3 separate regions of the Homo sapiens genome follow, and regions 1 and 2 are each linked to region 3. Evidence: promoter capture Hi-C in human tissues and cell types (Jung and others, 2019). All regions are on one chromosome and are shown on one strand. Each heading gives the region's core, a stretch centred on a gene start or on the middle of the fragment in contact. The rest is flanking DNA. Distances are from core to core; before and after follow the strand shown.

Region 1 (2,700 bases), core at 149-2,648, 310 kb after region 3:
TGCCGGCAAGTGTGTGGCAGTATGAAGTAGAAGGACAAGCCTGTATTTGAGGCTGGAATGCGGAAGGGGCTCTTCTGCGGCTAGGTGTGGGACCCTGAGCAGGAATGTGGAGAAATGGGCAGGTAAATGCATCACGTTGGCCAGGAGATTTGCAAGGACTTACAGCTGAATGATGATAATGGGGAGTGACTGTGAGGCCCTGGGAGTCTCTGAGTGTAAAGGAAGATAGGTGTGGGGCCCCCAGGGAGTATGTGGGAGCCATTGCTGTGTAGGTGGAGGTAGTTGGGGAATAATCTGGTGAGCTCTGTGAATTTCTAGGGTTCTCCTGAATGCTGAGGGGTGACTCTTGCAGAAAACTGAGGATGCTTGGAGAATAGCTGGGAGACACAGATGAGGCCCTAAGGAATGGTGGTATAGAGGTGACAGAGATAAGGGAGGAGCACAGTGAGGTCTATGAGTTTCTGGGTGACTCCTGTGTGTTCAGGGCTGACCCAAGGAGAAATCTGGGGATGGTTGGAGAGGAGCTGGGAGACACAGGAGAGTCCCTGAGGGTTGCAGGTGAAGAGATGGGAGACGTGATAGAAGAGGGCCCTGAGATTTTTGTCTATAGGTGATACTTGGGTTTGGGAAGCTGAATGTTGCAGTAAGCTGGGGATTGAGAGAATCTGGGAGACACAGGAGAGTACCTGAGGGCCTGGAGTAAAGAGTTGGGAGACATGGGGCCAGAGCCCTGTGAGGTCCCTGAGTTTCTGCTTGTTACATGGGTGTCAGGGCCTGACTGTTACAGAAATCTAGGAATGATTGGAGAGTAATTGGGAGACATGAGACTCCCTGAGGGCTGGTGGTGAAGAGATGGGAGACATAGGGGAGGATCCCGTGAGGTCTATGAGTGTCTCTGTAATTCCTGGGTGTGGCAGGCAGACTGTCACTGAATATGAAGAATGTTCATGGCTTATATATTTTTTATTTTTACTTTATTTTCTAGGTCTCATCATAGCTCATATATAACACTCAAAACATCATTAAACCATCTAATCTAATATTCGACCATATCATTTCTTTCTTTACACGACTTGTGAGATAAGTAAGATATCAGTTAAAATTTTCATTTCAGCATCTGTTTTTCTCATATCCCCTTTGTGCTTCTTAAAGATGGTTAAAATAGGACAGACAGACTTGGAACTTTGTTCAACTGTCTTAGGAAAAGACCATTGCAGGGGCACAGTCTTTCAACCCCACTGGCCATGTAAGACTAGGCCTGGAGCCTGGAACACATCCTTCCCAAGAGATACTGAACCTCTTTCAGACTCATTGAGGGTTCTTCAAAGTGTGGGTCAGTGGTCCCCAAGGGATGCCCGCAGCTTTCAGTATTTCACACTCCATGAAAACATCAGCAACTGTTTTCCCAGACCTGACACTGCCAGGTGTGCAACAATCTCTGGATTAATCCTCATAGAGATGGCTCCACTTAGGGTCATCTCATAGGGATAGAATTTTGCTAAGGATAACCCCATCAGTTACCCTTTAAGTTTTCTTTCCTATCCCAAGGGTATTAACCTCTATTATCTGGTCTCTCAGTTCAACTTTCAGCTTATTACCTTTCTGGGATCAGAGGCTTCAATATATGGTCATCCACAGGATTCAAATTCATGATTCAAGGGAAAGGTCAGAAAGACATGTTAATCAAATCTTAAATATCAAAGAGTAACTAAAACTTTGCCTCATGAAAGCATTTTTGCAAGCATAATTTAGACGGTCAGCACTGAGCCAGGGAAGCACCCTTCTATTCAGAGGACTCTCACATCAGGGAACATATCCCAGAGGAAAGAGACAATGCTACATGAGGGGAAGAACTAAAACATGAAAATAGAGTTCCTTAATATTGCTTTGCATATATGAAAATAAGCCCACTTGCCCTCTATACTTCCCACGCATTCTCAGTTCTTCATATGAAACCATTTCTGGCCAAAATTTCTAGTTACCTATTTCCAGGAATCCATTTTATTTTCAATGAGGAATGTTCCTAGGAATCTATGTCCTAAGTAGTAATCTGCTCATGCTATTCCAAACATAAACCTCATTATCCTGAGGGATCTTTGCTATTTGGTTGCTTAGTCTTTCCTAAATAGTCAAAGAAGGAAATCTTTGTATTTCATTTTTGGCTTTGAATAATTTTTACTCATTATATCATTTATCATAGCATAACAGCGTACATTCCAAAAAGGAAGGCCCAACATAAACTGAGAAATTGAATAGATACATCCATAATCCCTTTCTATTCTAATCCATACACAAATATTTTATCATAATGGTTTTAGAAGTGAATATTATTTCTATATTCTTTTCCCACACTTTTCACTATATATCATAGACACTTTCCTAAAATTTATAAAATCTTCACATGTAACAACAGCAAGTGCTGTAAGGAACAGATTACAAGCTATCTAATTGGAAGATCATGTAGTAAAATGATGCACTAAAATATGGTTTTCCAGCCTAAGTTCTAAACACTACAGCAACCTTTAAATTTTCTCAATAAGCCCACTAGTGTTAGCATTCCATTTACTCTTTATGGAAAAAGAGGTCTAACACTGGCAGTTGGCTTTGGCATATGATTTTCTCTGATTCAGGTCTGAGTGCTTTCTGCAAGGAAAAGTGCCAGTATTTATTATTTTCATAGGAATATGTCATAAGAATCAA
Region 2 (2,700 bases), core at 67-2,566, 270 kb before region 3:
ATTAAAGAAATTAAATCTGTATTAAGGATCTTCTCACAAAAATAATGTCAGGCCAAGAGGATTCAGTAGCAAATTCTCCCAAACATTTAAGAAATTAAAAATGCCAATCAAACTCAACTTGTTCTAGAAAATAGAAAAAAACAAACTATGTCATAAGGCCAGAATAACTGTGATATCAAAACCAGATGAGGATATTACATAAAAGGAAAATTACAATATATCTGTTTCATGAACACAGACGCAAGCATATTAAACCAAATATTAGCAAAGAGAAACCAGTAACATATTGACCAAGAGAGCTTTATTTTAGAAATTCAAAGGCCATTTAATTTAATTTTTTACCATAACCTCAAACAAGTATAAGTTTAATTTTTAAAAAATCAATGTAATCTTTCAATGTTAACTAATAAAGGAGAAAACCATTCAATTATTTCATTAGAAATAATCCATTTAACAATATACAACATTAATCATGATAAAAATTCTCAGCAAACCAGGACTAGAGGGGAACTTCTTTCATCTGATAAAGGGGACCTAAAGAATAAAAACTACAACTACCATTGTACATAAAGGGATCATTATACATAATATGGACCACTGTCTTTCTGATTTCAGGAACAAGGTAAGGTTGTCTACTCTTACATGTCTTTTCAATTTTGTAGTAGAAGACCTATCCAATATTATAAGGAAAAAATAAAAGGTGTAAATGGAAGGAAGTAAAATGATCTTTATTTGCAGATAGTGTAGATTACATGATTATGTACATAAAAATATTTTTTAATTCCACAAGCTTTAAATTAAATAATTTATTGCTGAATAAAGGGTAAAAGTATAAAACAATTATATTAAAGCAAAGCTACTGAAAAATAAAATTTTTAAAACCTTAACAGTTTGTAAAAACATAAAAAATGTAAAACAGGAATAAATTTAACAGATGTGCAAGACCTTTAGACAGGAAACAACAAAACCTTAAGGAAAGAAATTAAAGATGAATTCAATAAATGGAAATGTATTCCATGTTCATGAACTGTAAGACTCAATTTTGAGATAATTCTCTCTAAATTTATCTACTGATTCAATGTACTGCCAACAAAATGTCAGCAGGGCGTTTTGTTTGTTTTGAGAAAATTAATTAACTCATTCTAAAATTATAGAGCAATGCAAAGAACCTGGAATAGACAAAGTGATTTTGAAGAACAAAGTTGTTCTTCAACTTATATTACCAGATTATCAAGATATAATATAAAGCTACAGGAATTAAAATGGAGGTGCTGGCACAAAGATTGACAAAGAGGACCAACGGAAAAGTAGAAAGACTCCTGCACATATATGGGCCCATGCTTTACAGTAAAAGTCTGACTGCAGCTTAAGAGAAGGCCAGTGTTTTTAACAAACGGTGCCAGTGCACTTGGATATCTGTATGAAAAAAATGATTTTGAACTTCATCCCACTACATACACAGATATAAATTCAAGATGGATCATAGGTCTAAGTGTGAAAACAAACAATAAAGATTCTGGAGGAAGAAACAGAAAAATAACTTTGTGGTCTTGGGATAGATAAAATTTTCCTTTTTTTTTGTTTTAACTTTTAATTTCCACTTATTTTAGACTTAGAGAAAAGTTGCAAGAGTAGTACAGAGGGTTCTCATATACCCTTCATTCTAGCGTTTATCTTACATAACCAAAGGATAATTATCAAAACCAGGAAATTAACATTGGTACAATACGAAAAATTTGCACATCTTATTCAAATATGTTTTCCCATTAATGTCCTTTTTCTTTTCCAGGATCCCACACATTAATCTACGTTGCATTTAGCTGTTATTTCTCTTTAGTCTCTTCCGATCTCCTTAGACTTTCTTACTGCATTAATTTTCAGTTGCTACCATAACCAATTACCACGAATTTAGCTTAAAACAACATAAATATATAAAATCTCACAGTTTCCATGGACCTGGAGTTTAGCTGGGTGCTGTCCTCAGGCTGGTCTCACAGGCTGCAAACGAGGGGTTACCTGGGCTGTGTTCTCCTCTGGAGTTCAACTGGGGGAGAATTCATTTCCAGGTTCATTCAGATTGTAGGGAGAATTCATTTCCCTGTGGCCATACGACTGAGGGCCTCACCTTTTTGCTGACTGTTGGCTGGAGGTTGCCCTCAGGTTCTGCAGGCCACCTGCAGTTCCTTTGCAAGATGGGCTTCTCCAACATTGCCACTTACTTCATCAAGCCCACAAAAGAAGTCCAATCTGCTATGAGTCTTATATGGTATAACATAATCACAGTAGAGACATCTCGTCACTTTTTTTTTTCATATGATAGGTTTATTTTTATTATTTTAAGGAACCTTCATACTGTTTTACATAATGGCTATACCAATTGATATTGCCATCAACAGTGTACAAGTGTTCCCTTTCCTCTACATCCTCACCAACACTTATCTATTTTCTTTTCTTTTCTTTTTTTTTTTTGAGACGGAGTCTTGCTCTGTCACCCAGGCTGGAGTGCAGTGGCGCGATCTCAGCTCACTGCAAGCTCCGCCTCCCGGGTTCACGCCATTCTCCTGCCTCAGCCTCCCGAGTAGCTGGGACTACAGGCGCCTGCCACCGTGCCCGGCTAATTATTTTTGTATTTTTAGTAGAGACGGGGTTTCACCGTGGTCTCAATCTCCTGACCTCGTGATCCGCCCGCCTCGGCCTCCC
Region 3 (2,710 bases), core at 178-2,677:
TCAGTTTTTTCATCTGTGGGCCTAACTTGCCTGTTCATCTTTGGCCGTTGGGATTTCCCTGTCTTAGCTTTGAGTTTAGCTACATTTTAACGCTTTAGGGGATATTGTCACATAACATTTTTCTATCTTTGAAAAGATCCACAATATTATGTAATGATTACCACTATCTAATCCTAGAACTCTTTCATCTGCTCCCAAAAGAAATCCCCTACATGAGCTGGGTGTGGTGGTGCATGCCTGTAGTCTCAACTACCCAGGGGGCTGAGGCGGGAGGATCACTTGAGCCCAAGAATTTAAGGCTGCAGTGTGCTATGATCATGCCTGTGAATAGCCACTGTACTCCATTCTGGGAAACATAACAAGACGCTGTCTCTAAAAAAGTAAGAAAAAAAAAACCCTACATATTGACAGTCACTCCCCATTCCCAACTACATCTCCCCAGCCTTGGAGACAACTAATTTACTTTCTGTCTCTATGGACTTGCCTATTCTGCACATTTGATATAAATGGAATCATACCATATATGGTATCTTGTGTCTGGCTTCTTTCATTGGACATAATGTCTTCAGAGTTCATCTATGTTATAACATGAATCAATATTTTGTTCATTCACATTACTAAATAATATTGCATTATATGGCTAGACCACATTTTGTTTATCCACTCATCAGCTGATGGACATTGGGTCTTCTCCACTTTTTGACTATTATGACTAATGCTGCTATGAACTTTTTTAGAACAAGTTTTTGTGTGGATATCTTTCAGTTCTCCTGGGTATTTACTTAGGAGTGAAATTGCTGGCACATAAGCCCCAGATCGGGTGCCAGCAGATTCAGTGTCTGGTGAGGTCCCGCTTTCTAAGTCATACATGGTCCTTCTGGCTGTGTCCTCACATAACTAAAGAGGCAAAGGAGCTCCCTCAGGCCACTTATAAGAGAGCATTAATCCTATTCATGAGGGCATTGCCCTCTTGATCTGATCACGTCCCATAGGTTCCACCTCCTAATATCTTCTTGGGAGTTAGGATTTAAACATACGAATTTGGTGGGGGCCATAAACACTCAGACCATAATAATACCTAAAGAGAAGTGAGGGATTCTGGGAAATGAAAACCAGGAGCTCAAGGTAGTTGGACACTTCCACATCAGAAGGCTTGGACATTCCGGAAGTGTAGTCCAGGAGGGCGGTACTGTTCTGTTTTTCCCCCAACTCCAGCATTCTGTGATATGTAGTCCGGAGTTCCGTGTAGTCGCGCATAGCTCAGCTGCAGTAAGGCTGTAAATGTTTCCCCTGCGGAATCCTGGGAACTGTAGGTCCAATCGTTCTAGGTAGTTGTAGGCACTTCCGGCTCGAGGAAGGCAGTGCTGTGGAATTCTGGGAAGCGTAGTCCAGGTCCTCCTGATACTCGCAGGCACTTCCGCCCAGGAAGACGACGTAGCAGCCATCTTTTCCCTGGCTTTGGTGATTCAGGTCAGCTTCTCAGGAACCTTTCAAACTTCCCCGAAATGCACTTGTGGTCAGCAGCTAGCGGTCTTTTGTTTGGGGAAAAAAAGGAGTAGCGGCTAAGAGCGGAGGTTTGAGGGGCCAGGATGCTGTTTTGCGTTTCCCTGGGCGGAGCTTGTTAGAATTGGGGGCGTACTGGCTTCGGGCGGCTGGGGTGATGCTTCGTCGGGTTTGAAGGTCTCTCGGGCTGTTCGCTCCCTCATTGTGACTCCCCCACCTAATGAGCCAGCCCTACCACTTCATACAGTATCACATTGAGCGAGTTAGTTAATCCCCGTGCCTTCGTTTGCTGTTCTGAAGGAAAATAAAAGCAAAAACTTCCTAATAGAATGTTTTGAGAGAAAACGAGGTAATACAAAAAGTGTAAAACTGCCTGGCACGTGAATTACCAATACTACTGTAATTTTCCTAGAAACTCCCGTTCTGTGGCGAAATTCTGTGAGTCCATGAAGCTGGATTGTCCCTGACCTCTTTTGAGGAAGGAGAGGGTTGCTTCTAACTGGTCCTGGGAGATGCCACTGTGATGTATCCGGGATGAAGACACAATCCTGGTTACTTCATAGCCTGTTTTTCTTCCCCAGCCCTGACTTCTCAAAAAGCACTGCACAGAGGAGGAGGCAGCAGAACCCCATGTGAGTAAGACTTGTTGTTATTCTTGTTTTATTCACATAAATCAGAGAATGTGTGGGGTCATGTATTTGGGCATGAGAAGTGATTATAATTTAGCGTTAGTTGCTAAGTTCCATTCTAAGGGGTTTATACAAATGAACACCTTTCCACTATACAGTGGCTCTGTGAAGTGATACTCTTTTTCCGAGGAGACTGAGACATAAGAACATAACTTGTTTGCTCATAGCCACCTAGCTAGTAGGAGGCAGAGCTAGCATTGAAACCGAGGCAGTCTGAGTCTAGACCTGAGTCTTCTTTGGTATGTTCTGCATGAGCCATAGGCAGCTGGCTAGTATCATGTGAAAATAGGTTGGGACTTCACTGTGGGGACTTTGCTCAAGGTCTGGGCTATTCTATGACTTTTAAAAAATAGTGGCTGGGCACAGTGGCTGACGCCTGTAATCCCAGCACTTTGGGAGTCTGAGGCGGGCAGATCACTTGAGGCCAGGAGTTTGAGACCAGTCTGGCCAACATGGCGAAACCCCATCTCTACTAAAAATACAAAAATTAGCCAGGCGTGGTGGCCAACACCTGTAAT

The links. Contacts are between HindIII fragments. The study calls those that stand out against the background at their distance.
Region 1: a contact is called between a fragment that was not itself captured here and the fragment with the promoter of ZNF226 in region 3, in 2 of the 25 tissues and cell types used here (IMR-90 fibroblasts and liver).
Region 2: a fragment that was not itself captured here is called in contact with the fragment with the promoter of ZNF226 in region 3 in 2 of the 25 tissues and cell types used here (spleen and stomach).

The regions. Positions count from the first base shown.
Region 1 is chr19:44,473,484-44,476,183 of GRCh38, forward strand. It overlaps ZNF180 (zinc finger protein 180), which reads right to left. Exons shown (of 5, transcript NM_001278509.3): 5 at 960-2,700. Among named protein-coding and RNA genes, the nearest start is that of ZNF180, 26 kb to the right of the region's middle. The HindIII fragment of the contact is 8,219 bases long and covers 1-2,700 here.
Region 2 is chr19:43,891,097-43,893,796 of GRCh38, forward strand. LOC100505715 (a long non-coding RNA gene) reads right to left here. Exons shown (of 3, transcript NR_038334.1): 3 at 708-2,044. Among named protein-coding and RNA genes, the nearest start is that of ZNF404, 8.5 kb to the left of the region's middle. The HindIII fragment of the contact is 7,085 bases long and covers 1-2,700 here.
Region 3 is chr19:44,163,673-44,166,382 of GRCh38, forward strand. It overlaps ZNF226 (zinc finger protein 226), which reads left to right and starts at 1,428. Exons shown (of 6, transcript NM_001032373.2): 1 at 1,428-1,470; 2 at 2,085-2,135. RefSeq lists enhancers at 1,120-1,269, 1,330-1,449. The HindIII fragment of the contact is 21,073 bases long and covers 1-2,710 here.